Regions from separate parts of the Homo sapiens genome. Here region 1 is linked to region 2. The links are contacts of gene promoters, found by promoter capture Hi-C in human tissues and cell types (Jung and others, 2019). All regions are on one chromosome and are shown on one strand. Each heading gives the region's core, a stretch centred on a gene start or on the middle of the fragment in contact. The rest is flanking DNA. Distances are from core to core; before and after follow the strand shown.

Evidence for each region. The method cuts DNA at HindIII sites, captures the fragments that hold promoters and counts their contacts. A contact is called where the count stands out against the background at its distance.
Region 1: a fragment that was not itself captured here is called in contact with the fragment with the promoter of TEX26 in region 2 in 1 of the 25 tissues and cell types used here (pancreas).

The regions. Positions count from the first base shown.
Region 1 is chr13:30,988,434-30,993,987 of GRCh38, reverse strand. No RefSeq gene overlaps it. Among named protein-coding and RNA genes, the nearest start is that of LINC01066, 5.0 kb to the left of the region's middle. The HindIII fragment of the contact is 6,426 bases long and covers 402-5,554 here.
Region 2 is chr13:30,930,896-30,936,649 of GRCh38, reverse strand. TEX26 (testis expressed 26) reads right to left here and starts at 3,994. Exons shown (of 7, transcript NM_152325.3): 1 at 3,874-3,994. The coding sequence starts at 3,934. TEX26-AS1 (TEX26 antisense RNA 1) reads left to right here and starts at 4,042. Exons shown (of 4, transcript NR_038287.1): 1 at 4,042-5,404. The HindIII fragment of the contact is 5,735 bases long and covers 44-5,754 here.

The DNA.
Region 1 (5,554 bases), core at 2,365-4,864, 58 kb before region 2:
TTCCATGGTGTATATGTGCCACATTTTCTTAATCCAGTCTATCATTGTTGGACATTTGGGTTGGTTCCAAGTCTTTGCTGTTGTGAATAGTGCCGCAATAAACATACGTGCGCATGTGTCTTTATAGCAGCATGTTTTATAATCCTTTGGGTATATACCCAGTAATGGGATGGCTGGGTCAAATGGTGTTTCTAGTTCTAGATCCCTGAGGAATCGCTACACTGACTTCCACAATGGTTGAACTAGTTTACAGTCCCACCAACAGTGTGAAAGTGTTCATATTTCTAATCTGTTAACAGGAGAGGTTTCTAACATTCCCAAAGCAGAACTTCTTCCTCTCCAGTTCATGGTATCAAATAGCAACACTTCCCAAGTTCTCCTTTACTGCTTAGAATCATGTCCACTCAGTCCTGTGGAGCAATCACTAGTGATCAGAGAGATGCCTTGGGAAGAACATTGTGCTCTTTTTATGCTGGGAGCAGCTGATGCTAATGAGATCTACTCACAGTGGAGGTTCAGCTTCCACTGTCCACGCCAGGGTTTGTTACTGGAGTACCAGGGTAGATTCCTCTTCCCTCCACTCCTCCCCAGGTAAGTGAATCCCATCACATGTGAAGGTAATTGGTGTTCCTGTGAAGTTCAGGTTAGGGGAGAAAATGTCAGGGAGTCAACGAAGAGGAAAATAACTTTGGTATTGAGCTTACTCTCTTATCATCTTGCCCAGCCAGGGTGAGATCAATAATAATTCTAACTTACATTTGGGTGCCACCTGCCATCCAAGACTGAACCCTTATTATCCAGTTCCACTCCTCCCCAACCTCCCTTATCTCAGACGCTAACTGCATTTTTCCAACTGCTTAGGGTAAAGTTTGGAGTCATCTCCCTCCCCTTTCTCTCCCAAACACGCAGTGAGTCCACCAGCAAGTCCCTTTGGCTCTACCTCCATAGAGGTGGATTCCATCAGAATCTACCACTCCTCACTTTCTTTCCCAATACCTCCCAGCACAAGCCATCCATGACTCTCATTTGGGCTTTGCAATAGCCTCCTAATTGGTCTCCCTCTTTCCATTTCTGCCTCCCAACAATATATTCTATGTAGGGAGTGATCTTTTTAAAACAGAAGTTGGATAGTGTCAAGTCTCTACTTAAAACCCTGCCATATTTCTTTTCTCATTCAAAGTAAAGTCCGAATGCAGAGGCACACCATGGTCTGTACTTCTACCTGTTGGACCTCACCTACCACCAGTCTCCCTCATTTCTCTGGAGCCACATTGACCCGCTCTTAGGACATGCAGGGCTCCTATGCTTGTTCCCTCTGCCTGGAAGGCTCTTCCCCGAGATGGTCCCAAGGTTCTCCCCTCCTCCCACACTTCCACCAGGAATGAAGTCAGTGCCATCTTATGGGGAGGGCTTCTCCCACCACCCTACCTCAAACAGCAAACTCTCAGGCCCCTCTATGCCCTTAGCCTGTTGTATTTTTCTTGATACTTCTGAACTCGACATTGTGATACATATTTACATGGCAGATTTATATGAAATACATGTTTGTATTACACCCATTTTATGTTTTTCCTCATACTTTCATACTTGTTATTATAGCAAAGATTTGTGTATTAGTTTGTCAGTTTTCTCCCTTCAGCATATTAGCTCCATGAATGTACATTTATCCCCTTTCCTGAGGAATCCACAGAGCCTAGAACTCTGCCTAACACAGTTGAAGAATGAATTGGCACTTCCCAGTTTGCCAGTGGCTCCCAAATAGTTCATCTACTTAATCCTTGAAATAACTGCTCCAGTGTTGTAATCCTCACCTGCATAGGAAGAAAAAAATCCAGATAAGATGTGATGCATGTGAGATTTCATAATCAGTAAGCAATACAGCCATTTCTGTTTGGAGACGGGCCAGCCCAGCTCTCTGTCCTCAAGTGCAGGGTTCTTTAAACTTCACAAAAATGACCTCTCCCAGCCTTTAAAAAAAAAAGTGTGGAGATGCTCTACTTTTAAATACTACATGTAAGATGGTTCACGCCATTCTCCTGCCTCAGCGCTCGCCACCGCGCCCGGCTAATTTTTTGTATTTTTTTTTTTAGTAGAGACGGGGTTTCACCGTGGTCTCGATTTCCTGACTTCGTGATCCGCCCGCCTCGGCCTCCCAAAGTGCTGGGATTACAGGCGTGAGCCACCGTGCGTGGCCAATTTGCTGAACATTTTTTCAGGCTCTACATTTATGTAAAGATGTACAATTTTATATAAATGAGATCATACTATTTTGTAACCTGCTTTTTTCACTTAGCAAGATATCTAGAGTGTGTTTCCGTATCAATAAAAATAGACCTAAATATGTGCATAATGTTTCATTCTGAATTTCCTTAAAGGTTCCGTATTAATGAGCATAACGGTTGTTGACATTTTTTCCGGAGTTTTATATAGTGCTTTGAGCGGGGCCCTAAAAAGTTAAGAGAAAAAGTTAAAGAACGGGCTTAGCTGGGGTAAAGAGGAACAAATATTCCTAGAAATGGGGTCAACTGCAAAAGGCGCGCTAGCACTCAGGCACCCTGTGACAGGCACTCAGCTCACAGCCCATCTATGCCCCAGCATCCTGTCCACAAGCATTTAGCCTCCTTATAAAACTCCCCTCCAGGCCTTGCCTCTTGGCAGACATCCTTCCTTCCGCTGCCTTGCCCGTTATATCCTTGCAACATACCTCCCCTTTCTGCAATAAACCTGCCTTTCTAAACTCATTCCTGTCTTGGTAAATTATTTTAACTCTTACGCACCAGTCCCAGACAATCACTGACCATGACACTTTGATGAACAATCACAACAAAAACCGGTATGTAAGTTTCCCATTTGTGCAAAGACGTCATTAGAGTATATTTATGAAAATGGAACTCGGAAACATATTGCCAAACTGTCCCTTGGAAAGACTGTACCCAACTTACACTCTGTTATGAGTTGAATTGTATCCCTCAAAAAGATATGTTGCATTTCCAACCTCCAGAACCTGTGAATGCCGTTTTATTTGGAAATAGGGTCTTTGCAGATGTAATCAAGACAAAGTCATGAGGGATTAGAGTGGGCCATAATCCAATATGAGTGGAGTTCTTATAGGAAGAGGAGACTTTGGACACAGACAGACACAGAAGGAAGGTAGAGAATGCCATGTGACAACAGAGGCAGAGATTAGAGTGATAAATCTACAAACCAAGCAATGCCTAGGCTACCAGAAGCTGGAAGAAGCAGGGAAGGATCTTTCCTTATAAGCTTCAGAGGTGCATGGCCCTGCCAAACAGCCTGGTTTCTGACTTCTAGCCCCTAGAACTATGAGATAATAAATTTCTGTTATTTTAAGCCGCCTAGTTTGTGGTGCTTTGATACAGCAACTCTGGGAGATTGATACACATCCCATGAATGCACGAGCGTGCCCTTTACCACCCTTGCTGATGCTGGGTCATCTTTGCCAATGTGACAAACAATTGTCCATTTTTCCATTGAGGCGTTTGTTATTTTCTTATTGATTTACATGAACTACGATTAATATTTGCATAGATAATACTACTATTGCTACTTTTTAATATATGACGCAAATACTTTTTCTGTTATTTGTCTCCTAAACATTTTTACGGTTATGATTTTTTTTTGGTGGGGGGGAGGTCTTTTTAGTTTGTTTTAGCCATACTTTATGTAGACAAATTTAGTAGTCTGTTTATTTAAGTTTCTGGTTTTTGCAGCATGCTTAGAAAGGGCTTTCCTTAGCCACAGATTTTCTTTAAAAATTTTTCTTTATAGTAGAATGATTTATAATCCTTTGGGTATATGTCCAGTAATGGGATTGCTGGGTCAAATTGTATCTCTGGTTCTAGATCCTTGAGGAATCACCACACTGTCTTCCACAATGGTTGAACATGTATGTTTATTGCAGCACTATTTACAATAGCAAAAACTTGGAACCAACCCAAATGCCCATCAATGATAGACTGGATAAAGAAAATGTGACACATATACATCATGGAATACTATACAGCCACAAAAAAGATGAGTTCATGTCCTTTGCAGGGACATGGATGAAGCTGGAAGCCATCATTCTCCGCAAGCTAACACAGGAACAGAAAACTAAACACTGCATGTTCCCACTCATAAGGGGCAGTCAAACAAGGATAATACACGGATGCAGGGAGGGGAACAACACACACTGGGGCCTGTCAGGGGGTAGAGGGCAAGGGAAGGGAGAGTATTAGGACAAATACCTAATGCATGCGGGACATAAAACCTAGAAGACGGGTTGATGGGTGCAGCAAACCACCATGGCACACGTATACCTATGTAACAAACCTGCATATTCTGCACATGCATCCCAGAACTTAAAATAAATAAATAAATAAAATAAAAATTCTTCTAGTAGTTGGAAAATTTTATGTTATAGCTTATAGTTTACATTTGTTTATTTCTTCCATCTGGAATTTATTTTTGTTGAGTAGCAATTTGAAGGTGCATCTTTTTTTTTCTCCAGAGGATTTTTTTTTAAATAACGTGTATTCAATAAGCCGTTTTTTTTCTCACGGTTTTGCACTGGCACCTTTATCACACACTAAGTTCTCATATATATTTTAGCCTTTTTCTTGATCCTATTTTTGTCCTATTAATCTGCTCATCTTTCCTGTTACCTGTAACATAGTACAGTATAGCAATTTTATAATACATTTTAATATTTGTTAGGGAAGTTTTCTCCTAATTACTCATCTTACTTATCAAAAATTTCCTGGTTATTCTTGATATTGTTCTTTCCCAAATGCGCTTTATAATTTTTTGTCAAGTTACCTGCACGCACACACAACACTCATAAAAAAATACTGTTCGAAATTCTACTGGTGTTAACTTTATGTCAATTTAGGAAGAAGTGGCATTTTTACAATGTTGAATCTTCTTTTATTTATTTATTTATTTATTTATTTTTTAAGATGGAGTCTCGCTCTGTTGCCCAGGCTGGAGTGCAGTGGCGCAATCTTGGTTCACTGCCAGCTCCACCTCCCGGGTTCACGCCATTCTCCTGCCTCAGCCTCCCGAGTATCTGGGACTACAGGCGCCCGCCACCACGCCCGGCTAATTTTTTTGTATTTTTAGTAGAGACGGGGTTTCACCGTGTTAGCCAGGATGGTCTCGATCTCCTGACCTCGTAATCCGCCTGCCTTGGCCTCCCAAAGTGCTGGGATTACAGGCGTGAGCCAACGTGCCCGGCCTGAATCTTCTTTTATAAGACTGCACTGGCTCTTCATTTACCGAAGCCTTACTTTATGTCCTTCAGTAGGTTTCATGGGTTTTCATCATATGACTCCAATACAATTCCAATTACGTGTTATCCAAAGTATTTTATGGGGGTTTATAGTTACCATGAAATAATAAACATTAGACTAATTAAAAAAGATTAGTTAGTAGCTGATTACTCATTGACCAGTTATATCCATAAACTAATTATAAACAGCAAATAAGAAAAGACTTGTGATGTAAGATTTACACCTTTAATTTGGCTAAACAGGTCTAGAAAATCCCCTGAACC
Region 2 (5,754 bases), core at 2,745-5,244:
GCCAAGAGATGAGCTATGTATCCTATGAGCACAAGTTTAATGTGGTGCTGATGTCCTATGTGTCACAGGGAACATGAAGAGGGTGCAATTCTTTTTGCTTGGATGAGAAGATGCGGCAGCAAGGGCAGGCCCAGGGGTCATCATAGCATAGGTGGCATCTGAGCTGTGATTTAATTTAGTAGATGTTTGAAAGAGAAGCACAGGACATGAAGTAAAACAATTTACAGAGGAAGTAGCATGAGGTATGAGAGTCTGAGATGAGACACAACAAATAGCCCCATGTGAATGGAGCAAAGGGAAAGATGGCTAATGACAGGTCAGCAAAGCATCCTAAAGCCTCATTCTGCTAACCTTGACAATCCACTGGATGTGTTCACCATTAGGAAAATATAAAGCTTAAAAAATATTATAAAGTAGTAACATGTATATTCTATTATACTTTACAAAATATTTTCACATATATTATTTTATTCCCTCACTTTGTTTTGAGGATTCAAGGTATTGATATATGTAAGTTGCTTGTAGTGTGCCACATGGTGACACTACAAAAAAGATATTTCCATGTCCTAATCCCCAAAACCTGTGAATCTTACTTTATTGGGAAAAGGGGTCTTTGCACACGCAATTAAAGATTTCGAGATTAGGAAATCATCCTGGATTATCCTCGTGTACCCTAAATGCAATTACAAGTGTGCTTATAAGACAGAGACAGAGACCTGGAGTAATGAGGCCACAAGCTAGCATTACAGGATCTCTGGGGTGTTGATTTTTCTGGCTGGAAAACTCTGTGGCTGCAGTGCCTTTGCCAGAGTTTTTGTCCCGCATTGAGGTACACAGACAAGTGAAGAGTGAAGAAGAGTTTTAGTGTTAGAACAGCTCGGAGGAGTGGGTAGCTTCTCTCTGTAGGCAGGTCATCCGGTCAAGTGTTCAGCTGTCAGTAGAGAGGAGGCCCTAGGCAGCGTAGCTCCTCTCCATAGGCAAGTCATTCAGAGATCTCTGCAGGTCTCTGAAGCTCTCAGCAGAGAGCGTAGCTCCTGTCTGTCGGCAGTCGAGAGGGTACTCCTTCCTTTCTGCAGCTAGTTGCCCCATCATCTCCAGCTATCAGCAGAGAGCATACTCCTCTACAGCGGGGGGTTCCCTTGTCTCTCCCTGCCCTCTTCATTCTCTGGCTGCTGTCCTCTTCCCTGCTCTGGCTGAGCCCAGGGTTTTTATGGACTTCAGAGGGAAGGAAGTGCATGCTGATTGGTCCATGGGTGGCCATGCGCAGGCTGGAGGAGGCAGCATGAGTCCCCACTCAGATTCCTGACTGGCAGCCTGGTCCCCAGACTTCAGGCCCTCCCTGGTCAGAGGGTGGGGCCTTACTGGGGACCCCAGCCCCTTCCACCCAGGACTCTGTCTGCCTCCTGCTGCCATTCACAGCCCTGGGGCTTGGTCCCAACCCCACTCTGAGATCAGAGCCAGTGGAGAGAGGCCAGGCAGTGGGAGCAGATACCCTTTAGCCTGCAGGGATGTGGGTGGGGTATTGCCTGGCAGTGGGATCAGATACCCCTGAGCCTGCAGGGATGGATGGGTGAAGGGTGTCCTTCCTGGGGAGTCCAAGGGTGCAGGCTGCAGAGATGCCCAGGTCCTGTGCCTGGGAGGGCAGCTGCAGCTGCACCAGGGAGCTCTTGCCCCACCAACTTGGAAGAGGCAAAGCTCCCACTTGTCCCTGGCTCCTGCCTGCTTCATGGAGTGAAAGGCCCAGGTCTGCAGCCGTGGGTTCCACAGGGAGGCTCAGAGGCACAGGGAGGCTCAGACCCACAGCCGCAGTTTGGGTGGCTGTAGCCTCGCCCAGGACTGCAGGGCTCCTGCTTGCTCCATAGAGCAGGAGGCCTGGGTCTGTAGCTGCAGTTTGGGCGGCTGTAGCGGCACAGGGAGCTCCCATCCCAACTCAGAAGGGGCAGCTCCCACGGGCTCCATGGAGTGTTGCAGCCCCAGCTGTGCTTCCCTGCTGCAGCCAGCATGATGGCAGCAGCCACTGCCATCACTAGCAGTGCCGATGGCTACCTGAAGCTGGAAGACGTAAGGACCACTTCTCCCCTAGGGCCTGTAGAGGGAGTGCAGACTTGTCCAGACCTTGATTTCAGGCTCTCGACCTTCAGAGCTGTGAGCAAATACATTTTTGTTGTTTGAATCCACCAGTCTGTGGGAACACATAGCAGCCACAGGAAACTAATACAACACCTGAGAGCCCCATCTGTAGTAATTATTCAATAACAGTTAGTCATCAGTCACCATCAACCTCATCCTATTTCGGACCAAACCTGGGCAGTGGGGACACATCAAGCCTACCATTTGGAGGGTGACTCTCCCAGCAGTGGGGAATGAAGTGGCACAGAGTAGCCATTAGAGGCCCAAGCCTGGAGGTAAAGGGGCGAATTCACCTGGGGGAAAAAGAGCTTTGGAGGCAGAATCAAAGAGACCTGGTGATCAAACTGCAGTCTCAAGGAAGCTGCCTTCCCTTCTAAATTGAGCAGCTAGGACCCTCTTAACTGAACTCTCAAAGTCTGGAAGGTTTGAGGAGGACAAGGAGTGTGATTTTGCACATGTCAAGTTGGAGGCCCTGCTGTGACACCCACATGGAACTGTCTGGTAGACAGTTAGATATTCTGGTCTGAAAAAGTAGGAAGAAAGTCCAAGTCAGAGATAAAGGTTAGAGAGTTGTTGGCACCTTTATGCAGCACTTGAAGCCCTGTGCAGGATATGGTCACAAAGAGAAGGTAAGCCTAGAAGGATCAATCCTGGGGGACTCCAACAGTTCCCAGACAAGAAGGGGATGAAATGGGGAGACAGTGGGAAAACAGGGTGGTTAGAAAGGGAAGAGAAGCATCCAAAGGGGTGCTGTCGGGATGCTAGGAGGGGATCCTCCCTCCTCTGTCTCTCCTGTTTGCCTTCCCATCATATAGAAACTGAGTGTATTAGATATTTTCTGCACTAATTAAGTATTTTCATTTTCCATTCTTAATTTACAACGGAATGAATTGGAATGAAAATATGCATTTCATTCACTCTTTTGGGAGCACAATTCTAGGGAATTTGTACTTGAACAATCCTTCACTGCTCCATAGCCACTGTGGAATCACAGTTACCCAACTATACAGCAGCAATGGCCAATTATTGCCACAAGAGACTATGATGGAGCTGACTACACGGTAATCATGCCACTAGCGTCACAGCTAGAGTGGTTCTCCCTCCACAGACCCAAAAGGCTGAACTGGTGAACCTGCTGCATCTGTGGGCAGAATTAGGATGAAAAGCACTACCTCTGTGAAATACAAAATCTCTGTGGAAGAAAAATCAATTCAGGTTAGAGGCGGCAGCTGAAGGCCATGGCTCCCAGCCTGGTGCGACAGCCCAGGGAGGGCGTCTGCCTCTGCAGACACAGCTGGGACTCCATTCAGCAGCCAACCCTTCCCCCACTTTCCTTGCTGTTTCCAAGATCCTATATGGGGATCGGGACTCAGGCAGGACCTGTTCTCTTCAGAGCTTCCAGGACTTCTCTTTCTTCTTTGCCTTTGGCCCTGTTTTCCTTGGAAAATCACCAGTTCTTCCTTTTTTCCTGTCCCCTCTTAGCCAGGCACTTCCTCGAGTGTTTAAAAACCCTGCGCGTTTTAGGGAGCGGGGATTTGGCAAAGGTTATGCGAAGGACTGAAAAGGGGCAGCGTCATGAAGGCCCTGTCATTCTCCCTGACTCCCCGTCTTTTCCTCAGTTGAGCATACTCCTAAGAGCGATGCCACACCCTTAAATACTAAGGCCCCTTTTTCTCAACAGGACCCTTTCCCCGGGAAAGACCCCAGCCCCGCCCCGCAGACCGGCAGAGTCTGCTGTCTTACTTGGCTGGAGGTTGTGGTGGCAGAGAGAGGGATCCGGAGCCCTGGGCCCAGGCTGTTCCATTCTGCCCCAGGAGGCGGCCGCGGGGCCCTGGCTCCAGCTATCTCAGCGCTTGCGGGAGCCGCGGGCTGCTTTGTGACGCGTCGCCATGGAGACAAGGATCGGGTTCCAGGGAGTTCTGCCCCTGCCAAGGGGTGCTGGCCACGCAGGAGGCTTAACCTGGCCGGCGCGGGAATGGGGTGCAGAGAGCAAAGAAATGTGGCTTTGATCTTATGGATGCCTTACTTTTACATTATTTGTACAGTTCTTGCAGTGAGCTTTCCGGACCACTGTCTTGTATGTTTCCTAAGAAAAGCAAAAAGGGAAGAGATTGAAGAGAAAGTAGATTTTCAACTACAAACTTTCATCCATTTGCTTTCAGCTTAAGCAAATGTGCGCAAAGTTGTCATGGATTTTTGCAGTCAATAAAAACCAAGCAAGAAGACTGAATCCCAAGTCATCTGGTATAAATGGAAGCAGTTTCTGTGATAGTTCCACGCGGTCAGAAGGGTCATCCTGGCTTAGGAGAGGGGCAGAAGAGGAAATGCACGCGTGGAAACAGGAGTGGGCAGGGAGGATGTGACACTGTCCTCCTCACCAGGCCACGTTCCTGGCACCAACCATAGTGTTTGTGAGGGTCAATTTAATTGTTCTTGTGCTCTCATAGAGGAAGCTGTGTCTTTCATCCCCTTGTAAGAGTTTTCACTGATGAAGGGGGTCTTTTATCTTCATATCTTGGGAACTACTGAAACTGTTTCAAAGAGTCAAAGACACCAATAACTAACAGAAATTCTTGTTTTCAGGGGCAGATAAGAAAAGAAACAATTTGCTGAAACTCCCTCTGCTTATAACAAAACTGACTGAAATCAGCCGGAATCAATATGGCCAAATGCAGTTTGCGCACAGCAAGCTTGCTGATGTCACAGCCTGAATTTCTACTGCATGTTTCATACCAACTCCCTCCAAATTTGCACATGGGACCCACCAGGAAGCATGAAGAGAGAGCCATGCATGCCTGAAGACTTCCCAGATGTTCCCTTTGCTTCCACCAATCACCTGCTAACCCCAGGATCCAACCCTAAACCTTTTGTAATAAAATTACTGCCCTAAAGCCAGTACAAGACAGATTTGAACTGGACTTTTGTTTCCTCAGAAGTTAACTTGCAATGTGAAGCTTTCCTTTTCTCAAAAACTTGGTGTCATAGTGTTGGCTTCTAGTGCAGTGAGCCCCTTTTGCTGGATAACCTTACCTGGTAATTTGACATACTAGGTGGTTAGTAACTACTGACTGTCTCCAGGTTACAACACAGTTATTACCCACTTGGGTGAAAAGAGAAGACAGGAAATACATTTTGGAGTTGGCTGGCAACCTGTTTACAAAGCAATTTACAACAGTTCCTTATTCTTAAGGGGCTATTCTAATACAAGACCTCAGAGAAACAGTGCAGTGTGACAAAGGAGGAATTTATCAAAGGAGACAGAAAAAGCATCAAGGTAAGGATCCCAAATATATGTGCAAGGAATGTCTTTAAAATGAAGAGCTAAACTAGAATTTCCTGAAGGTAGAGTTCTATCCATATAATGGAATGAATATAACACATTATAAACTCTCATGTTTTGAAGCAATGGAGGGTGGAACACATTAGAAGGCATAGATGTTATTAAAAGGAATGAGTCTAAATTAGGATTTAGTAGTGGCATCTAAATTTAAAAAGTAGCACCCAATAACAGATTACTGTCTGGAAATGGTAGAGCTAATTAGCATAGCATAATTTAAGAGAAATATATGTTTAAAATAGAGCAGCAAGTATATAGAATTTTGAAAGTGAATTCTTATTAATATC